Regions from separate parts of the Homo sapiens genome. Here regions 2 and 3 are each linked to region 1. Evidence: promoter capture Hi-C in human tissues and cell types (Jung and others, 2019). All regions are on one chromosome and are shown on one strand. Each heading gives the region's core, a stretch centred on a gene start or on the middle of the fragment in contact. The rest is flanking DNA. Distances are from core to core; before and after follow the strand shown.

What was found. The method cuts DNA at HindIII sites, captures the fragments that hold promoters and counts their contacts. A contact is called where the count stands out against the background at its distance.
Region 2: a contact is called between a fragment that was not itself captured here and the fragment with the promoter of IGFBPL1 in region 1, in 1 of the 25 tissues and cell types used here (dorsolateral prefrontal cortex).
Region 3: a fragment that was not itself captured here is called in contact with the fragment with the promoter of IGFBPL1 in region 1 in 2 of the 25 tissues and cell types used here (dorsolateral prefrontal cortex and hippocampus).

Annotation. Positions count from the first base shown.
Region 1 is chr9:38,423,111-38,426,212 of GRCh38, reverse strand. It overlaps IGFBPL1 (insulin like growth factor binding protein like 1), which reads left to right and starts at 1,759. Exons shown (of 5, transcript NM_001007563.3): 1 at 1,759-2,248. The coding sequence starts at 1,789. LOC105376041 (a long non-coding RNA gene) reads right to left here and starts at 1,602. Exons shown (of 8, transcript XR_007061487.1): 1 at 1,463-1,602. RefSeq lists an enhancer at 1-714. The HindIII fragment of the contact is 5,843 bases long and covers 1-3,102 here.
Region 2 is chr9:37,882,677-37,885,667 of GRCh38, reverse strand. It overlaps a transcript of SLC25A51 not described here and the pseudogene PAICSP1. Among named protein-coding and RNA genes, the nearest start is that of SLC25A51, 20 kb to the left of the region's middle. The HindIII fragment of the contact is 3,987 bases long and covers 1-2,991 here.
Region 3 is chr9:37,828,932-37,832,025 of GRCh38, reverse strand. All of the region lies in intron 2 of DCAF10 (DDB1 and CUL4 associated factor 10), which reads right to left. Among named protein-coding and RNA genes, the nearest start is that of DCAF10, 30 kb to the right of the region's middle. The HindIII fragment of the contact is 6,117 bases long and covers 1-3,094 here.

The sequences.
Region 1 (3,102 bases), core at 510-3,009:
TTTAGGTCGTTAACTTTTTTTATTTTTATTTTATTTATTTATTTATTTTTTGCTATAGTAACCAACTCCAGGATGAAATCTTCACACATAGTGATCATTTTTTTAGGAGAGATTCCTGGAAGAGCACAGAGGGGTCAAGCGGTGAGAGCACTTTAAAAGGCCACTCCTGGTAAAGACAGCAGCCTCCAGGTTGAAAGTCACTGTTGATAGGTTCTGAGAGCTGCGCTGAGTGCATTACCAACATTGTTATATTTATTCCTTACCACCACCCCTTCATGGTGCCTAACCGCCCCTGCTCTGTGTGGCTGATTGTAAGGTAAGGCCTGGCGTGGACCAGGCAGATGGCCCTCCTCTGACCACCACATAAAGTGGCCTCAGAAGAGGCTCCTTTCTGGGGATAAGAAGACTGCAAACTGGGAAGGAACTGGGCTTGAAAAGCAAAATGAACCCCACCCAAGAACGGTGTAGCTGGTCTTCCCAGGCTGCAAGAGGCTTTCTCCATCTCCAGGAGTTCAGCAAAGAAAAAACAATAGAGCACAAGACACATGAGGGGTGGCCAGTAAAGGCAGGAAAAGTCTCCTATAAAACCTGCTCAGCGAGTCCCTCCCTCCATCCAGTGCATTTACCCAGCAACACATCAAATCCCAGCAGCCAAGACTCTCTTAGGTTTCTCGTCTGGGTGCCCTGCCAGAACTCAGGCAGGATGGTGTGCACAGAGCCTGGCCCAGAGAAGGCGCAACGGCGGCATGAATAACTGACTACAAGAAACTGCATCTTTCCAACATGCATTCCCCAGTAAGCCACAGGTACACTGACCCTTGTGCACCAAGACTTCATCAAAGCATTATTCGTATTAACCAAAGGATGGAAAATAAGTGGTTAAATAACTGCAACTAAACCCTGTGGAAAGGCCACTCTGTATGAACTCCAAAATATATCACCATATCTCATCACAACAAAGTCACTGTGGACGGAGATGTACCATGACTTTATGCAGCATTAAGAAACACACTCACAGAGCCAATGAACTATGCTCCCATTGATTGTATAAGAAACCCAGTTTCACAGATGACAAGAGGTGGGGAAACTGTGAAACACTGTAAGTGCAAAAACCAAGTGCAGACTAATGTGTATGGCACGCTACTCTGTGTGTGTGAGAGAGAAACAGAGTGTGTGTGTTTTAAAGGAAGGGGCTTTTTTAGGCACATGTACTTTTATAGGCATAGAGAAAATTTCTGAAAAGATATACAAAAACCCGATAGCAAGAGTGGCCTCTGGAAGCCGAGTTGGAGGATGGGGATACAAGGTGGTAGGGTAACCCTCTTTTCATCCTTAGATGTATATGTAAAATCTACATTTTAAACCATATATTCTCTTTATAAAATAAAACTTTGAAAACTACTGAATGCAAAATAAAATTAAATAAAATAGCGCATCCTTCTGGGAGGATTTACGGGCATACTATCTGGAGCCAGCCTTGGATCCGGAGACCGTACGGTTATCCAATCCTGACTCTGCCATAGCGACCTCGGGCAAGTTGTCGCCCCGACTGGGTCTCGGTTCCCTCAAGAGTCCAATCGGAGGTCGGAGAGCTGCTCTCGGGGCGACCCTCCAGCTCGGAGACCCGGGCCGCGGGCACCGCGCGGGTCCCGGGCTGGAGCAGCGGTCTGCGGGCGCCCCGCGGTGCAGGCCCGGCCAATCAGCGGCCGCGGGGCGGGAGCGGTGACTGCTCGGCGGGCGCGGAGCGGAGCGCGAAGCAGAGGCGCCGCCGCTGTCCCGGAGCAAGCCATGCCGCGCTTGTCTCTGCTCTTGCCGCTGCTGCTTCTGCTGCTGCTGCCGCTGCTGCCGCCGCTGTCCCCGAGCCTTGGGATCCGCGACGTGGGCGGCCGGCGCCCCAAGTGTGGTCCGTGCCGGCCAGAGGGCTGCCCGGCGCCTGCGCCCTGCCCGGCGCCCGGGATCTCGGCGCTCGACGAGTGCGGCTGCTGCGCCCGCTGCCTGGGAGCCGAGGGCGCGAGCTGCGGGGGCCGCGCCGGCGGGCGCTGTGGCCCCGGCCTGGTATGCGCGAGCCAGGCCGCTGGGGCAGCGCCCGAGGGCACCGGGCTCTGCGTGTGCGCGCAGCGCGGCACCGTCTGCGGCTCCGACGGTCGCTCGTACCCCAGCGTCTGCGCGCTGCGCCTGCGCGCTCGGCACACGCCCCGCGCGCACCCCGGTCACCTGCACAAGGCGCGCGACGGCCCTTGCGAGTTCGGTGAGTCAGGGTCGGGGATTGGGTGGGTAGAGAAGGAGGGATTCCAACCCTCTGGGGTGTGGAGCGAAGGATCCCCCTGCCCAGTGGTGGACGGCGCTGCCTGGCACTCAGTTTCCCCTTAGGGAGCAGTATTTCATATCTCTCCTCGTGCTCAGAGAGACTGGGGCGAGAATCCTTGGAGACGCCACTCACTGTGCTAGTCGAATTTTTGGTGAGCCTGCTACCCCTTTTGGTACTTAAGTACCTGCTGATGCAGTCACTTATTTGTAGGCATGGTATGTTTGCCCAGCAGGAGACTGGGAGTTAAGGAGGGGGATCCGAGTTCCCAGGTATCCAGCGCTAGGTGGATTGTTTGAATGGGGAGGAAGGGAAGTTGAGGTTGGGGGAGGAAGGGAAGTAGAGGATAGGGGAGGAAGGGAAGTTGAGGATGCAGGAGGAGGATGAGTTCCAGACTGGGGAATCAGTAGTCACCAGGCCACAGCACCAGAGCACCAGGGCCCCCGGTGTGGGAAGGGGCTGAGCTGGGATGCTGAGGGAGCTCCATCCAGGAGAAGTAAGACCTTTGGAGACGTAAGGTCTGAAAAGATTGTGGTGCTATTAGGGGCAGACTCAGGTTTCGTGCTTCTAAAACATATATAATTTGGAGAGTCCTGCCTTAAGTAAAGGAATAGAACTGCTAGGGACTTAGAAACTTATTATGAAATGCTAGGGACTTAGAAACTTAAGCTTCATTAACATCACAGTAAAATAATCTCTGAGTGCTATAGTTGCCCACCCTCTTTATGTACCTTTTGAAAACCAAACAAAAAGAAACCAAAACGTTAGCACTGCTTTACCGGCTTCCTAAGCATGAG
Region 2 (2,991 bases), core at 375-2,874, 540 kb after region 1:
CTCCTTTGGGGTTCCGAGTCTTCTCTGAGGCCCACGTTGGGCGCCGTATTATTGTTGCCAAAAAGAGTGAAACTCACAGTGAAACCCCATCTCTACTAAAAATACAAAAAATTAGCCAGGCGTGGTGGCGGGCGCCTGTAGTCCTAGCTACTCGGGAGGCTGAGGCAGGAGAATCTCTTTCTTAATTGGCCAAATATAAGTTGGTGTCGTAACTCCAGGCCACAGTGAGTTATGGGCAAAGCTTTTTTCCTTAAGCATCAACAAAATAGGATAAAAGGTTCCAATAGGAAAATACAAGGTTTTTTTTTTTTTTTTTTTTTTTTTTATCATTACCTAAGAGCTTTAGGCTAATTGCCTGGTAAATAGCTGTCCATCTGATGGCCTTTGACAGGGAACCTAATCCCCAAGATAGGATTCTTTTTCTTAAACCAATCTTGAAATCGCCTGCATTGAAACATAAGTGGCTGTGACCGGCCAGAGGAGAAGGTCCTCAGGGGCCAGGGGCTCCTCAGGCTTCCTTTGTTACTCCATTGCTTGCTTCTCTGCCCTCAGGAGCAGCTGCAGAGGACAGTCTTCATTAAGCTCAAGCATATGACAAAGGGGCAGAACAGAAAAGAAAAACAGCTTATTAGGTATAGGCTTTTCATGATAAATTGCTTGTATTAGTTTTGAAACTAAGCACCTATTGGATAGGCATTATACTATTTCTATTTAGATATGGTAGATCAAGGAGCTATGAAAGTTCCTGTTTTGCTTTCTAGGTTTGAAAGTTTTCTGTTTGATTCTGACTGTGATCTTCAACCCTTCCAAAATGTCCTTGTGTTATAATTTCACTTATTTCATTGCCAAAAGATGAAGGGACTTGAATCTTGTTATAGTTGTTCCATCCTGTTAACAAGTTTTCATTTTGTGTGTGGATCAAATTCTGGTTAGCTTGGTTTCTTTGAATTACTGGTGCCATCTCAGCAAAGGCCTGTGGTTATTTTTCCCCTTGAGTGGGAGTTGGTCATATTCAAGCATCCTGTTCTCTTAAAACTCTCCTTTTAAAAAATAAACACTTCCATAACATTTTGTTTTGGAAGTCTATTAATGCAATCCCACTTTTTTCCCCCTAGTTTCTAAATGTTAAAGAGAGGGGAAAAAAGGCTCAGGATAGTTTTCACCTCACAGTGTTAGCTGTCTTTTATTTTACTCTTGGAAATAGAGACTCCATTAGGGTTTTGACATTTTGGGAACCCAGTTTTACCATTGTGTCAGTAAAACAATAAGATAGTTTGAGAGCATATGATCTAAATAAAGACATTTGAAGGGTTAGTTTGAATTCTAAAAGTAGGTAATAGCCAAATAGCATTCTCATCCCTTAACAGACAAAAACTTATTTGTCAAAAGAATTAGAAAAGGTGAAAATATTTTTTCCAGATGAAACTTGTGCCACTTCCAATTGACTAATGAAATACAAGAGACAGACTGAAAAAGTGGATTATGCATCTTAAAACCCTTTCTGTAAATATTATGTAGCTAAAGATTGATTTCCAGCATCTGACATGACAGTAGGTTTCTTGTTAACCAGTTTTTCTTCTTTCTGGATAATTGCATATGAATATTTATACATACTGACCAAAATAAAGGCCTCAACTTGGTAGTTTACTGAAAGTTCTTGGACAAATAGTCCATAAAAGCTGTTGACCTCTAAATGCACTATGGCTGGTTAAATACAGTGACCATCCTTCTTCCAGCTGTAAAGGATGAAGCGTATTAAGCATTAGCCAGGCAGTAATAAAGCTAAATAGCCATACAGCAGCTCTGACAATGTTGTGCTGGATATTGCAGTTTGCTTTCAAGGTGCAGATGTAAGGATTTAAAAAAATAATAATTTGGCACCAAATAAATATGAGTAGCATCCATTGGCCTATTAAATCGAGTCAGGATTTGAAGGGAATTGAGTTTGAGAAATGAATAAATAAAGGCACCTTGGTGCCTGACCCCCTCAATCATGCGTGTGACTTTGAGCACTCACAGGTGTGTGCAGCTACTCAGCCCAGGGCAGGTGGGTTAGCCTGGGGTTATACCTTGGCCCTGGGAATAGACACCATTGGGCCTTTGGTTTTGTTGGGCTTCCTTTTGTCTTTACACTCCACACAGGTGGTAGAAATCTGAGTTCTAAAGCACTTTTGTGAAATACAAGCTAAGTGAGAATTCTAAAGAAAATGCTTTGGTTTCTGCTGTCTCAAATAAGTGGCATTTAAAAACAATTATTAATAAATATTTTTAATGGTTTTAACTCAGTATTTTTTTTTATTTCTTTGTCACTCTTTACAGCTTTTGAAGACCAAACTGCAAATACATTACCAGGGATGGTTTTGTGTTGTCCTATAGACTTCTTAAATTTGACAAAAAATTTAGCAGAACTTGTAACCAACAGCTTTGTCTGAACTTGAAGTCAAAATGTGTTGTTAATAAGAGATTCTAACTATTGCTTTTACCTTCAGTGTGAACTAGTGTGGTAACAACTTTGAAAAGGCAGGCCGGGTGCGGTGGCTCACGCCTGTAATCCCAGCACTTTGGGAGGCCAAGGCGGGTGGATCACTTGAGGTCAGAAGTTTGAGACCAGCCTGGCCAACATGGCGAAACCCCATCTCTACTAAAAATACAAAAAACTAGCCGGGTATGGTGGCACATGCCTGTGATCCCGGCTACCCAGGAGGCTGAGGCAGGAGAATCGCTTGAACCTGGGAGGCGGAGGTTGCAGTGAGCCGAGATTGCGCCACTGCACTCCAGCCTGGGCAACAGAGTGAAACTCTGTCTCAAAAAAAAAAATTGAAAAGGCAAATGTGATTGAATATCTGAAAAGCTTTAAAAGTGGCCTTTCTGTTACGTCTGTGGCACAAATGGCTCATGAGCGCAGGACACTTATGGTCTTGTGTCCTATACTTCATGTGTGATGCCACCAGAAATGTTATGGATTCCGTATTGAACACACTGAGAGTGGTA
Region 3 (3,094 bases), core at 127-2,626, 590 kb after region 1:
TTTTTATGATGACCTCCGGGCTTCTCCCTGCAACTTCATAACTGGGGGGACCTAGATCTTTTTTTTGTTTTGTTTTTTGAGACGGAGTCTCGCTCTGTCGCCCAGGCTGGAGTGCAGTGGCACAATCTCGGGTCACTACAGCCTCCGCCTCCCAGGTTCAAGCAATTCTCTGCCTCAGCCTCCCGAGTAGCTGGGATTACAGATGCCGGCCACCACGCCCAGCTAATGATTATTAAAGGAACTCTAAATCCACATACAGATCCCTCAGGAATGAGAAGTAAGCCTGTATAATGGGTGTAAGTATTTAAATTACAGACTTTTCCCACTACTTTCCCAAAATATGAAGTAATAGAAAATATTGTCCGTAACTACCAATGTTTTTTATTTTTTTATTTTACAAGATAATAAGCAAACTACAAAACTAAGAAATGAACTAGAAGACATTACCAAGTATGTACAAAATGACCGTCTAGATTCAAACCAGAAAATGCATGCCCCTGTCTCTGAACAGTACAGTGAGGTGATCTAATGGAACTGAGTATGAATTCCAGCTCCACCACTTACTATATCTAAGAACTTGGGCAAATCTCTTTATTTGAGTTATAGTTTTTTATTCCTTAAATAGCTACAATATCTGTCTCACAGAGGGATACTGTGAGGATTAAGTAATGTATAAAAAGTGCTTCACAGAAGGTTTGGCACATAGAAAGCATTAAAAAATGGAAGTTAGTATTATTAATAAATAAAGCACACTTGAGCTCATGCACCAAAGACTCTTCAGATCTTCACTCAAAACTTTCTTTTTTTTTGAGACAGAGTCTCGCTCTATCGCCCAGGCTGGAGTGCAGTGGCGCGATCTCGGCTCACTGCAACCTCTGCCTCCTGGGTTCAAGCGAGTCTCCTGCCTCCCGAGTAGCTGGGACTGCAGGCGTGTGCCACCACGCCCAGCTAATTTTTGTATTTTTAATAGAGACGGGGTTTCACCATGTTAGCCAGGTTGGTCTGGAACTCCTGACCTCAGGCAATCTGCCCACCTCAGCCTCCCAAAGTGCTGGGATTACAGGCATGAGCCACTGCGCCCAGCCAAAACTCTTAAGTTATGTATACTTCTAAACGAGCTTCAAAATCGATTTCTCTAATCAACAGATCAGAAGAAGCAGATTCAAATTTGTAGGCATGAGTTGCTATGGCAGGCATACTGGCAGCAGCAAATGAAGGCTAACATTGATAAATAATACATTCTAATAGCGGATTAGCCAAAGGTTGTTTTGAGTAAAGGCAAACAACTTGGCACAAGTCTTATCTTTCTAAGAAATTTTTAAATTATAACATATTAGCAACATAGAGAAAACTATGAAAAATATAACAAACATCTGTGATACCACTCAGCTTTATCAATTTTAACATTTTATCTTTCACATATTTTTGAACATTACAAACACAGTTGAAGTGCCTTGTATATCCCTCCCCAGTCCCTTCCCTTCTCTTCCTCCCCAGAGGGAACCACTATCCAAAAGTTGTTGTTATTCCCATGTAAATTTTTAATACCATGAATTCATATGTATGTAACCATAAACACTTTATAGTATTGTTTTGCGTTCAGTTTTTTCTCTGTAAATGTTTAATAAGAACCCACCATATGCTAGGCACAATTCTAGATGCTGGGATAGAGCACAGAACAAATACATGCCCTCACCAAGCTTATGTTTGTAATGTTTTCAAATTTTATGTAAATGGTATCACACTATATAAAGCTCATTCTACATTTTTTTCTTTTCTACCTCAACTTTAAATTTCTGAGATGTGTATCAGATGCTGATGCTTTTAGTTCATTTATCTTAACTGATGTATAGTATTTCATTGTATGAGTACACCAGAATTTATTTATCTATTAATATTTCCTCTTGATAGACATTCGTTTCCAACTTCTCTCTATTACAAACAATGCTATAATGAATCTTCTTCATATACCTCCGTGTCCACATATGCATTAATTTCTTTCTTCTTCTTCTTTATTCTTTAAGAGACAGGGTCTTGCTCTGTCACCCAGACTGGAATGCAGTGGTGCAATCATGGCTCCCTGCAGCCTCAAACTCCTGGGCTCAAGCATTCCTCCTAAGCTTTCTAAGTAGCTGGGACTATAGGCACGTGCAACTACACCTGGCTAATTTTTAAATTGTTTGTAGAGACGGAGTCTCACTGTGTTGCCCAGGCTAGTCTTGAACTCCTGCCCTCCAGTGATTGTCCCACCTCAGCCTCCCAAAATGCTGGGATTACAGGTATGAGCCACCATGCCCAGCCTGCATCAATTATTAAAAAAAAATTAATCTTCAGCTTTACCATATATTGCTCAACTGCTCTTCAAAATAATGTTATAAATTTATACTTCATCAGTAATATCTAAGAGTGCCTATTTCTCAACGTTTCGCTGCCGAGAGAAATAGCAAGTATTTTTCTGCCAATACTTGGTATTTACTGTTATTTTTATTTGTACTTCCATAATAAATGATAAGCTTGAACATCTTTCTGTAGTTATTCTTCATTGTAGTTTTTTGTTTTATTTTATTTTATTTATTAATTTTTTTGACATGGAGTCTTGCTCTTGTTGCCCAGGCTGGAATGCAATGGCACAATCTTGGCTCACCGCAACCTCCGCCTCCCGGGTTCAAGTGATTCTCCTGTCTCAGCCTCCCGAGTAGCTGGGATTACAGGCATGCACGACCATGCCCGGCTAATTTTTGTATTTTTAGTAGAGACGGGGTTTCTCCATGTTGGTCAGGCTGGTCTCGAACTCCCTACCTCAGGTGATCCACCCAAAAGTGCGGGAATTACAGGCATGAGCCACCGTGCCCGGCCTGTTCATTGTAGTTTATCTTAGGTGATTCTCTGCCTCTTTTGCTAAAGGGCTATTATCTTATATACTAATACTTTTCTGGTTATGTACATTGAAAATACCTTCTCCCACCAACTATAGCCTATCTTCTCACATTATTATGATGCGTTTGGTTACAATGAAGTTTAAAATTTTTATGCAGTTGAACTGATCAATCCTTAATGATTTATGCTTTTTGTATCTAAAAAAATCCTTTCTTAC